Linked DNA regions of Homo sapiens: all the other regions are linked to region 2. Evidence: promoter capture Hi-C in 16 types of primary human blood cells and fetal thymus (Javierre and others, 2016). All regions are on one chromosome and are shown on one strand. The core of a region is centred on a gene start or on the middle of the fragment in contact, and the rest is flanking DNA. Distances in the headings are between cores, read along the strand shown.

The links. The method cuts DNA at HindIII sites, captures the fragments that hold promoters and counts their contacts. A CHiCAGO score of 5 or more calls a contact.
Region 1: a fragment that was not itself captured here is called in contact with the fragment with the promoter of LITAF in region 2 in 1 of 17 cell types (activated CD4 T cells); the score reaches 6.7 in activated CD4 T cells.
Region 3: a contact is called between a fragment that was not itself captured here and the fragment with the promoter of LITAF in region 2, in 6 of 17 cell types (activated CD4 T cells, total CD8 T cells, naive CD4 T cells and 3 more). The highest score is 9.4, in activated CD4 T cells.

The regions. Positions count from the first base shown.
Region 1 is chr16:10,936,037-10,938,736 of GRCh38, reverse strand. CIITA (class II major histocompatibility complex transactivator) reads right to left here. Exons shown (of 20, transcript NM_000246.4): 20 at 2,343-2,700. All of the region lies in intron 1 of DEXI (Dexi homolog), which reads left to right. Among named protein-coding and RNA genes, the nearest start is that of DEXI, 5.1 kb to the left of the region's middle. The HindIII fragment of the contact is 5,264 bases long and covers 1-2,700 here.
Region 2 is chr16:11,585,524-11,588,223 of GRCh38, reverse strand. LITAF (lipopolysaccharide induced TNF factor) reads left to right here and starts at 1,305. Exons shown (of 4, transcript NM_001136472.2): 1 at 1,305-1,338. RefSeq lists silencers at 952-1,431, 1,462-1,541 and an enhancer at 2,442-2,551. The HindIII fragment of the contact is 18,010 bases long and covers 1-2,700 here.
Region 3 is chr16:10,956,342-10,959,041 of GRCh38, reverse strand. It overlaps CLEC16A (C-type lectin domain containing 16A), which reads right to left. Exons shown (of 24, transcript NM_015226.3): 2 at 1,132-1,260. Among named protein-coding and RNA genes, the nearest start is that of CLEC16A, 13 kb to the right of the region's middle. The HindIII fragment of the contact is 8,463 bases long and covers 1-2,700 here.

The sequences.
Region 1 (2,700 bases), core at 55-2,554, 650 kb after region 2:
TGGAAGCCATGCACAGCCTTCCCTCCTCCCCACCCTCAAATCCAAGCCAAGGAGGCCTTGCCCCCAAGTGCCGAGGAAGCTCAGAACCCCAGGGTATGAGAGGGGTAGCTAGCAGCAGGGAAGCCGCCAGGAAAGACCTCAAGATGATCTGACCGAGCCTCATCTCCAGGCCCCTTTCCATAAGCAGGGGAACGCCGGTAGTCAGTCCTGCTCTTTCTCAGCCATTCTCATGTGGTCACATGTGTTCCCCACACGCCAATCCAGGAAACAGTGACTAAGGGCGTGGAGCATGTCACACAGTGGGGCCCAGGATGAATCTCAAGATGAACAGGTGCACCTACTTTTGCTCCCTCTTTTTTTTTTTTTTCTCTTATGTGTGGACCCACATAATTCAGTTCCTCAAACATTTGCTGAGCACCTACTTGAGGAGGCAGTATTAGGGTCATGGTTAAGAGCCAGGGCCCTGGGTTCACATCCCAGGGTAGCTGTGACCTTGGGCATGCTGCTTAACCTCCCTGTACTTTGGTTTCCTCTTCTAGAAGATGGAAATAATGAAAATCTCCCTTGTTGTGAGGATTAGGTGAGATATACATAAAGCACTTAGATCTCCTTGTATATAGTAAGAGATGTATTAATATTAACCACTCATATTCATAGTCGGATACAATGGAAAGCGTGTTATACCCATGCCCTTGCAAATGTACAAACCTGCACCTATACTCATGCATGAATATTTATATCCTGTGAGCAGAAGAGGACAGGCTGCCTGAGTGCCAGGGAGGTCCAGGTCTAGCCTAGCTGGGGGAGACTTCCCACTCTGCCTTCCCAGCCCCAGGACCCTTAGGAGAACTTTCTTGCTGCCCTGTGGTCCCCAGGGCACCAGAACCCTGGATAGCCGGCTCTGTGGTTTTCCTAGAGTGTTAATTGTTGCCCAGGAGCAGGGAATGGGGAATCGGGAGCTCCCTCCTTCCCAGGAGAAAGGGCTGCAGTGGCTGGCCTGGGAGCCAGGGAGAGTCTTCACGTCCCAGCAGTTCTGGTGCAGAGGCAGCTCAGTTGGATTATTCGTCCCGGTTCCTAATGAAAGTGAAAGCTGCTGGTACCTGCCAGCCCTCTCTTGGCACACAGCGAGCTGAAAATGCAGAGACTGGAGAACGTTGCCACCAGAGTCAGCTTGTCCTGGTGCAGCTCAGATTTGGAGCTGAGGGTTATCGATGCATTGGTCTATCTTATTCCAGGATTTCCTAGGCTTCAGTTATCTCCCAACTAGGAACCACAGCTGCTCCTTCCTAACCTGGTCCCTCCTTGCCAATCTGTGGCCTGTGCTATCAGCAGAACCCCTGTGCCGGACATAGAGCTGCCCAGGTCAGAAACCCAAACCTTCCACAGGGACACAGTCAGATTTGAGTTATGGGAGATCCCACAGCCAGGGGTCAGGGCGGATGCAGGAAACCAGGCCAGGAAGCTGTGGCTGTCATCTAAGCAAGAGACAGACAATGGTGACACAGGGAGGCAAGTATACCCCCAGGCCTGGCCACCTCTCCAGCTCTGCTCCTGACATGAGGCTCACCCAGAAGGTCCTTGGCCATAGGGTACATTGGTGCCAGCTGCGTCTTCAGACAGGAGAAAACCCCAGTATGTGTCTCAAGACAGTGAGATGTCAAGAGTCCTGCTCTCTTAGCCCTGAATTATACAAACTGGAGATTTCAGCCAAGAAACAGGCAGGGTCTGCCCCACTTACAGCTCATGTGTCTGTTTTGCCGAACTAAGAAAGTGAGGGCTTCTCTCAATTTGGATATTCATATTTCTGGTTTATCTGCTAGCTTTCCTCCCAGAACTTCTGAAAGCATACTCGGCTTTTGGGAAACCTAAGATCACAATAAAAGTGGCAGACCTCTTTATCCCTGTCTCACAAATAAATGGAGGCACAGAATGGGGAAGTGGAGGCCGAGGGAACAAAGCCAACTAAGACTGCCAGCCCGGTTCCCTGGCCACAGCACTGAGGGTTTGAGGGGTGCCTCCAGTGAGGGCTCCCCATCCCCGACCTTGGAACACCAGCTCATAGTTTCTGCCAGGCCTATTTCATACGCACTCTTCCAACTTTTTCCTGAATTAAAAACAAACAAACAAACAAAAACCTCTGTTATGAAGTAATTTCACACTTACAGAAAAGTTGCAAGAGCACAAACAATGCCCGCCCAAACTCACCAGTTGCACCAGTTAGCACTTTGCTCATGTACACGTGCATGCTCTTCCCTCTGTTTGTATATGCATGCCTGTGTATATGCACACATGTGTATATGTGTAATTTTCATAAGCATTTGAAAATGGGTTCATTATGCACCTTTACTCCTAAATAATTCAGTATTTATTTCCTTAGAACAAGGACAAATTTGCATAACCACAGTAGGGTTGTCAAAATCAGCAAATCTAATATTGATACACTATACAATCCTATGACCAATCTCATCTACAACTTTATTCAAATTTTATAGAGGCTGAGGTGGAAGGATCACTTGAGTTTGAAACCAGCCTGGGCAACATAGTGAGACCCCGTCTCTACAAAAAGTAGGAAAAAAAAAATAGCGAGGTGTTGTGGTACACGCCCATAGTCCCAGTTACTCGGAAGGCTCAGGCAGGAGGATTGCTTGAGTCCGGGAGTTCAAGGCTGCAGTGAGTTATTATTCCACCACTGCACTCCAG
Region 2 (2,700 bases), core at 56-2,555:
TGCACCCGCCCCCTTCATATTTTAAAAGCAGTAAAATGTTGCCCACACTAATAACATCTACATGGGAACCTCCTATGCTTGGGAGAACTTTGAAATCCCTTCCAACTTGGTAACTCGTCCACGGCTGAGGGTGGCCCGTCAGTGGACATGGCGCAAGGTGGCAAGAACTTGGGGCTGGGGACACTTTGCTGAGGGACCCGGGACAAGCCACACTCCCTATCTGGGCCTCACTATCTTTAGGACCTCGGGTAAAGGCATGGGATTTGGGCACCGGAGGGTTCTAAGATCCAGGTCTTTGCCAGCATGGGGCTCGGAAGCTCCCTGTCCAAATGGCGTTTGTTTGTGGATGGCCACATCATGGTTCTGCCCATCTCCTGACTCTGTGTACTCTGAAAGCCAGGCATGCTTCTTAATTCCCTCTAATGATTTCCCAGAGAGCCTGCTGGATCCAGGCTGCTGCTGTTATCACTGCAGCCGGCCGATGGGGCTCCAAGCAGACGGGCAGATGGCACCCATTTAGGGGCGGATGTGAAATGGGGCTACTGATTTCCAGAGCTTGCTTTCAGTGATGGCTGAGAAAGGCCTACCTGGCGGCACGGACCACCCTGGGGGCACAAAGCGGACAGGCAGCTGATAAGCCTTACCTAATACCTATCCTGTGCTAAAAACTTTACCATCTTCCCAGTTCACTCCCAGTCGGTCTTAGGAGACAGGACCGCTATTGTGCCCATTTTGCAGACAGGAAGCCGAGCTCAGAGAGGATGGGTAACATGCCCGAAGGCACAGAGAGTGTCTTGGTCTGTCCGGACGCGTCTGTAGAGTTACAGGAAGAGAAGGGCCGCCCTCCAGAGGGCCGGGAGCGCCCCAGCGCGGGTCCGGGGTCGAGGTTGGTGGTCCCGCCGCCTGGAAGTGGTGGAGCGGCGCGGGGAGGGGGGAAAGTGGGGAGAGCCGCGAGCGGCAAATCAGGAGGGAGGGCCAGGCTGTCGGGGGCGGACGGGTGGGGCTGGCACCGAGAGGCAGGGGCAGGATAGGAGAGTGGGGGAGACACCAGGTCCGCGCCAGGCGTCTCGGGGGTAAGCCTGGGAAGCTCTGGGGTGGCGAGCGAGCCGGGTGTGGGATGGAGCCTGGGGGCGATCAGAGTGAGGCGGGGAACCGGCGGTGGTCTCGCCTGGGGCCCAGGTGCGGGCCGCGGGGGCGGGAGAAGCCGGAAGCCCAAGCCGGCCGCGCTCCGCCCCGGCGGGTCCAGCCCCCGCCCCCGTCCCCGCCGCCCGGCCCTTTTCTCGGGGCGCCCGAGAGGCCAGCTCAGACCTCCCGGCTCGACAGGCGGCGCGGGCGGCGGTGAGTGCGGCGCGGGGACGCCGGGGCGCGGGGACCAGCGGGAGACAGCGGGGGGCCGGTGGCGCCAGCACCTGCTGGGGGCCCCGGGCACTGAGCCCTTGGCTGGGGCCTCCTGGGATGCCAGGGGGCGCGGGTCGGGTCGCGGGCATCGAGGCGCGGCGGAGGGCGTGGGGGCCCGGCCGGGGCGGGGTCCGGCCTCCCAGCGCTGGTCCCGGCCGCGTCTCCGGTTGGGTTCAGCTCCTGCGTCCCAGAGTGGCCCGATCGCGCGTGGCGGGGTCGTCCGGCCCCCACCCGAACGAGCGCCCTTCGCGGCCCGCCGCGTCCCCCTCCCCGGAGAGGACGGCCCCTGGGCTTTTTAGAAAAAGGCGCGATTCTCTCTAGTGACTCAGGTTGAGATTTCCAGAAATATCCCCCGGGGGTTCAGAAACAAAACCAAAACAAACAAAAAAACCCCAACGAATTCCCAAATGCTATTTGCCAAACATTTGACTTCTAGGGGCGCGGGTACCCGCGTTTCTCTCCCTGCCCCCGCGACTTCGCGCAAGATCCGGGAAGGACACCCGAGGCCCCTGGGAGACCCTGGGGAGGTGAAAATCAGAGAGCGAAGCGGGCCGTGGCCCCTAGGCCTGACCCCTCCCCGCGGGGTAAGGCGGGCACCCCGCGAGCGCAGGGGTCCTCTTACTGCTGATGGCACCCAGCTCTGGGCCCAGACGCCGCTCACCGTCCACCGCCGGTGCTGGGTAGGTGCTGGTGGGACCAGCTGGTGACTGGTGGCAGAAGTGGATCTCGCCCCTCCCTGCCAAGCTAGGCAAATACCCTCCCCGCTCTGGTTTGCAGGTCACTGTGGATAGGTGGTCAGTTGGTGGTGTGCCCGAAGCTCTTCGGGGTCAGGGAGAGGAGGTGATAGGGGAAAGGTGTATGTTCTGGAAGGGCCAGTCATGCTTCAGGGACCAGGCTAGTTGGACCTTCACTGGTTTTCTACTTCCCGACAGTGGAGCTGATGTCACTGGCTGTTGGACTGAGCAGTGGTCACTGGGAAATCTACAGTTTGTGGAAGCCACGGGGTCTTCCAAGCTCCTACCAGTCTTCCCAAAGAGGATGCCTCCCTCCCCTTGGCCTGGTGCACTGGTGCTGGTTCAAAGACTGTCTGAAGCCCAGCTTGGGGTCCTCTTTAGGAAAGCCATGATTTGCCTTAATGTGTGCTTGGCTGCTTCATCTGCCCTCTCACCCCCTGCCTTCTCAGAGTGACTCTTTTTAGGACTTCCTATTTAGGACTAACCCAGATGCCTACAGAGAGAAGTGCAGGCTGGTATCTGGAATTCCACCAGTGTTTTGGTTTTATCAGTTGGAGCAGGATCTAGA
Region 3 (2,700 bases), core at 88-2,587, 630 kb after region 2:
CACACACACACACACACACACACACACCCGTGTTTAGTGGTTGTCATAACCCAGCCCCAAATCCTTCTGCACTAAGACATCAAGGCAGATCTATTAGGGAGGTAGTTCACAGTTAACAGCCCTTGCTATTTTTTTTTTGAGACATGGTCTCACTCTGTCACCCAGGCTGGAGTGCAGTGGCAAGATCATGGCTCATTGCAGCCTGGACCTCCTGGGCTCAGGCAATCCTCCCACCTCAACCTTCTGAGTAGCTGGGAACACAGGCACACACAACCATGCATGACTAATTTTTTAATTATACGTAGAGACGAGGTCTCTGTATGTTGCCCAGGCTGGTCTCAAACTCCTGGGCTCAAGCGATCCTCCTGCCTCAGCCTCCCAAAGTGCTGGGATTACAGGTGTGAGCCACCGCGCCTGGCGGCCCTTGCTTTTTAACTGTCCAGTGAGGCACGTCTGTCTTTATCATTTGCTATCATTTATTCCTGTACCAGGCACTAGACAAAGAGAACTTTTTCTCTCTCTTTTAAAGGTAAAGAAACTGAGGCTTAGGGAGATGAAGAGCCTGGCTGAGGACTGCTCACCTAGGAAGTGGTGAGTTGCGGGACCCCTCACTGATTCTGGGTGTGTCACTTTTCCACCGCTTACCAGCTATGTGACCTTGAGCAAAAAAGGGGACACCAACAGGGCCTCTACCATGGGGTGGGTGGGAAACTTAGGTGGACCATCTCATCAGGAGCTCAGCCCTGTGCCTGGTCATCAGTAAACATGGTAACTGGGAGCCCTCAGGGACTCCCCCAGGGCACAGGCCTTCTGTTCATGTCAAATCTAACCACCAGACATGTTCTCCTTCCTTTGGGAAAATAATCAGACACAACCTGAAGGAAAATTACCCATGACATTTTCAGGTTTTCTAGAGACACTCATTTCCATAACTTCCCCATTTTTGGCTTGCATTTCTATAGTGCTTCAAGGGCATTTTTTTTTTTTTTTTACAGCTAGACAGAGATAGATATCTAGGCAAGATCAAATTAGCGTCAAATCCTGACATCATCCAGAATGACTCATAGTATACATTTAGAAAAACATTCAAAGAAGAATAATCAAAGAACAGCAATCATTAGAAACCCTTACTCAAATACAGAGCTGTCATTTTGATCTCCCCAGATCAGGATCTCAGTGATGGAACGGATGGTCTCCACTAGCAGGTTCCGGTTCTGTTCTGTGACTGTGGTGTTTTTGGTCAAAACGTGGTACAGATACCTGAGAGAAATGAGAGAAAAGGAAATTAAAGGTTACCAACTGAAATGCAAGCCAAGTTCCATGACCATTAGCAATATTTTGGAGACAATGCAGCAATGCTTTTTCAGGTTTGGGTAATGCAATTTCCCATTCAGATTAGATGTAACTCACAACCCCAGAAAAATAGCAGACAATGCTTTGAAGGGTTAAACCAAGGACACACCAACCCAGACGGAGACAAGAAAATCGTCAAACCCTTGAAGTCAACTACTCTCAAACTGCAGTGTGCAAGAGAACCACCCGGAGAACTGAATCAAGTGGGGGCTCCTGGAGCCCCCTCGGAAATTCAGATTCAGCAGGACTGAGAGAAGAGCAAGTAGCCACCTGTTTCATATGCTTCCCATCATGTTGATGCCTTCAGAGCAAGTGGGGACATACAGCTCAGGCTGGATGCCTAACACGGGGCCTGCAGCCAGGCTAATGTTGAGGTTTAGAGAGATGGAGCCACAGCTTAGGAAGGCTGGGTCCCACAGCAGTTGCTGGGACAAAAATCACATGCAATTCCCCTTGGAATGCTCACAATCCTTCTCAAGTGCAGTGAGCCCATCAGAACTTATGGCTCAAATGATCTGGGTGGTTTGCAGCCCAAGGGCAATGGTCTTATTTGCTGAGAACAGATTGTTAAATTCACTGAGTTAAATGGGCTGGCTGGGAGCGGTGGCTCATGCCTGTAATCCCAGCACTTTGGGAGGCCAAGGTGGGTGGATCACCTGAGGTCAGGAGCTCAAGACCAGCCTGGTCAACATGGCGAAACCCTGTCTCTACTAAAAATACAAACATTAGCTGGGTGTGGTGGCGAAGTCTGTAATCCCAGCTACTCTGGAAGCTGAGGCAGGGAGAATTGCTTGAACCTGGGAGGTGGAGGTTGCAGTGAGCCGAGATCACACCATTGCACTCCAGCCTGGGTGACAGAGCGAGAGTCTAAATAAATAAATAAATAAATAAATAAGGGCTGCAGAGGCTATGGTGCTGTACTTCATCTACCCAAACAGGCCTGAATGCCAGGTGCTGGAGCTGAGACAGGTAGACACCTTCCAGTCCTCAAGGCCTCTTTGCTGGTGGGGGAGACCAAAAGAATCACCGAGGCCAGTCCTGAGCAGCGCGGGGACCAGAAGCCTAGCTGGATGCCCTGGGAGTGCCACCGGGCACGGCTTTTAAGATGGCTTCTCCAGGGCCCACAGCCCCAGGTAACTTCACCTGTCAAGGGAGCTCAGGCTTGAGAAGGAAAAGCAGACACCAAGAGGAAGTGACTCAGGAAAAGGGCCCTCCTCTCCTGATTTCTTTTATGGCTAACTTCAGTTTTCAGGGCTGGGGGTCTGGTGAGAGCAAGGAAGGAAACGTCTAGATAGGATTGTCCCATCTACAATCTCTAAAAACGGGTAAGACATAAAGAGGAAGCAG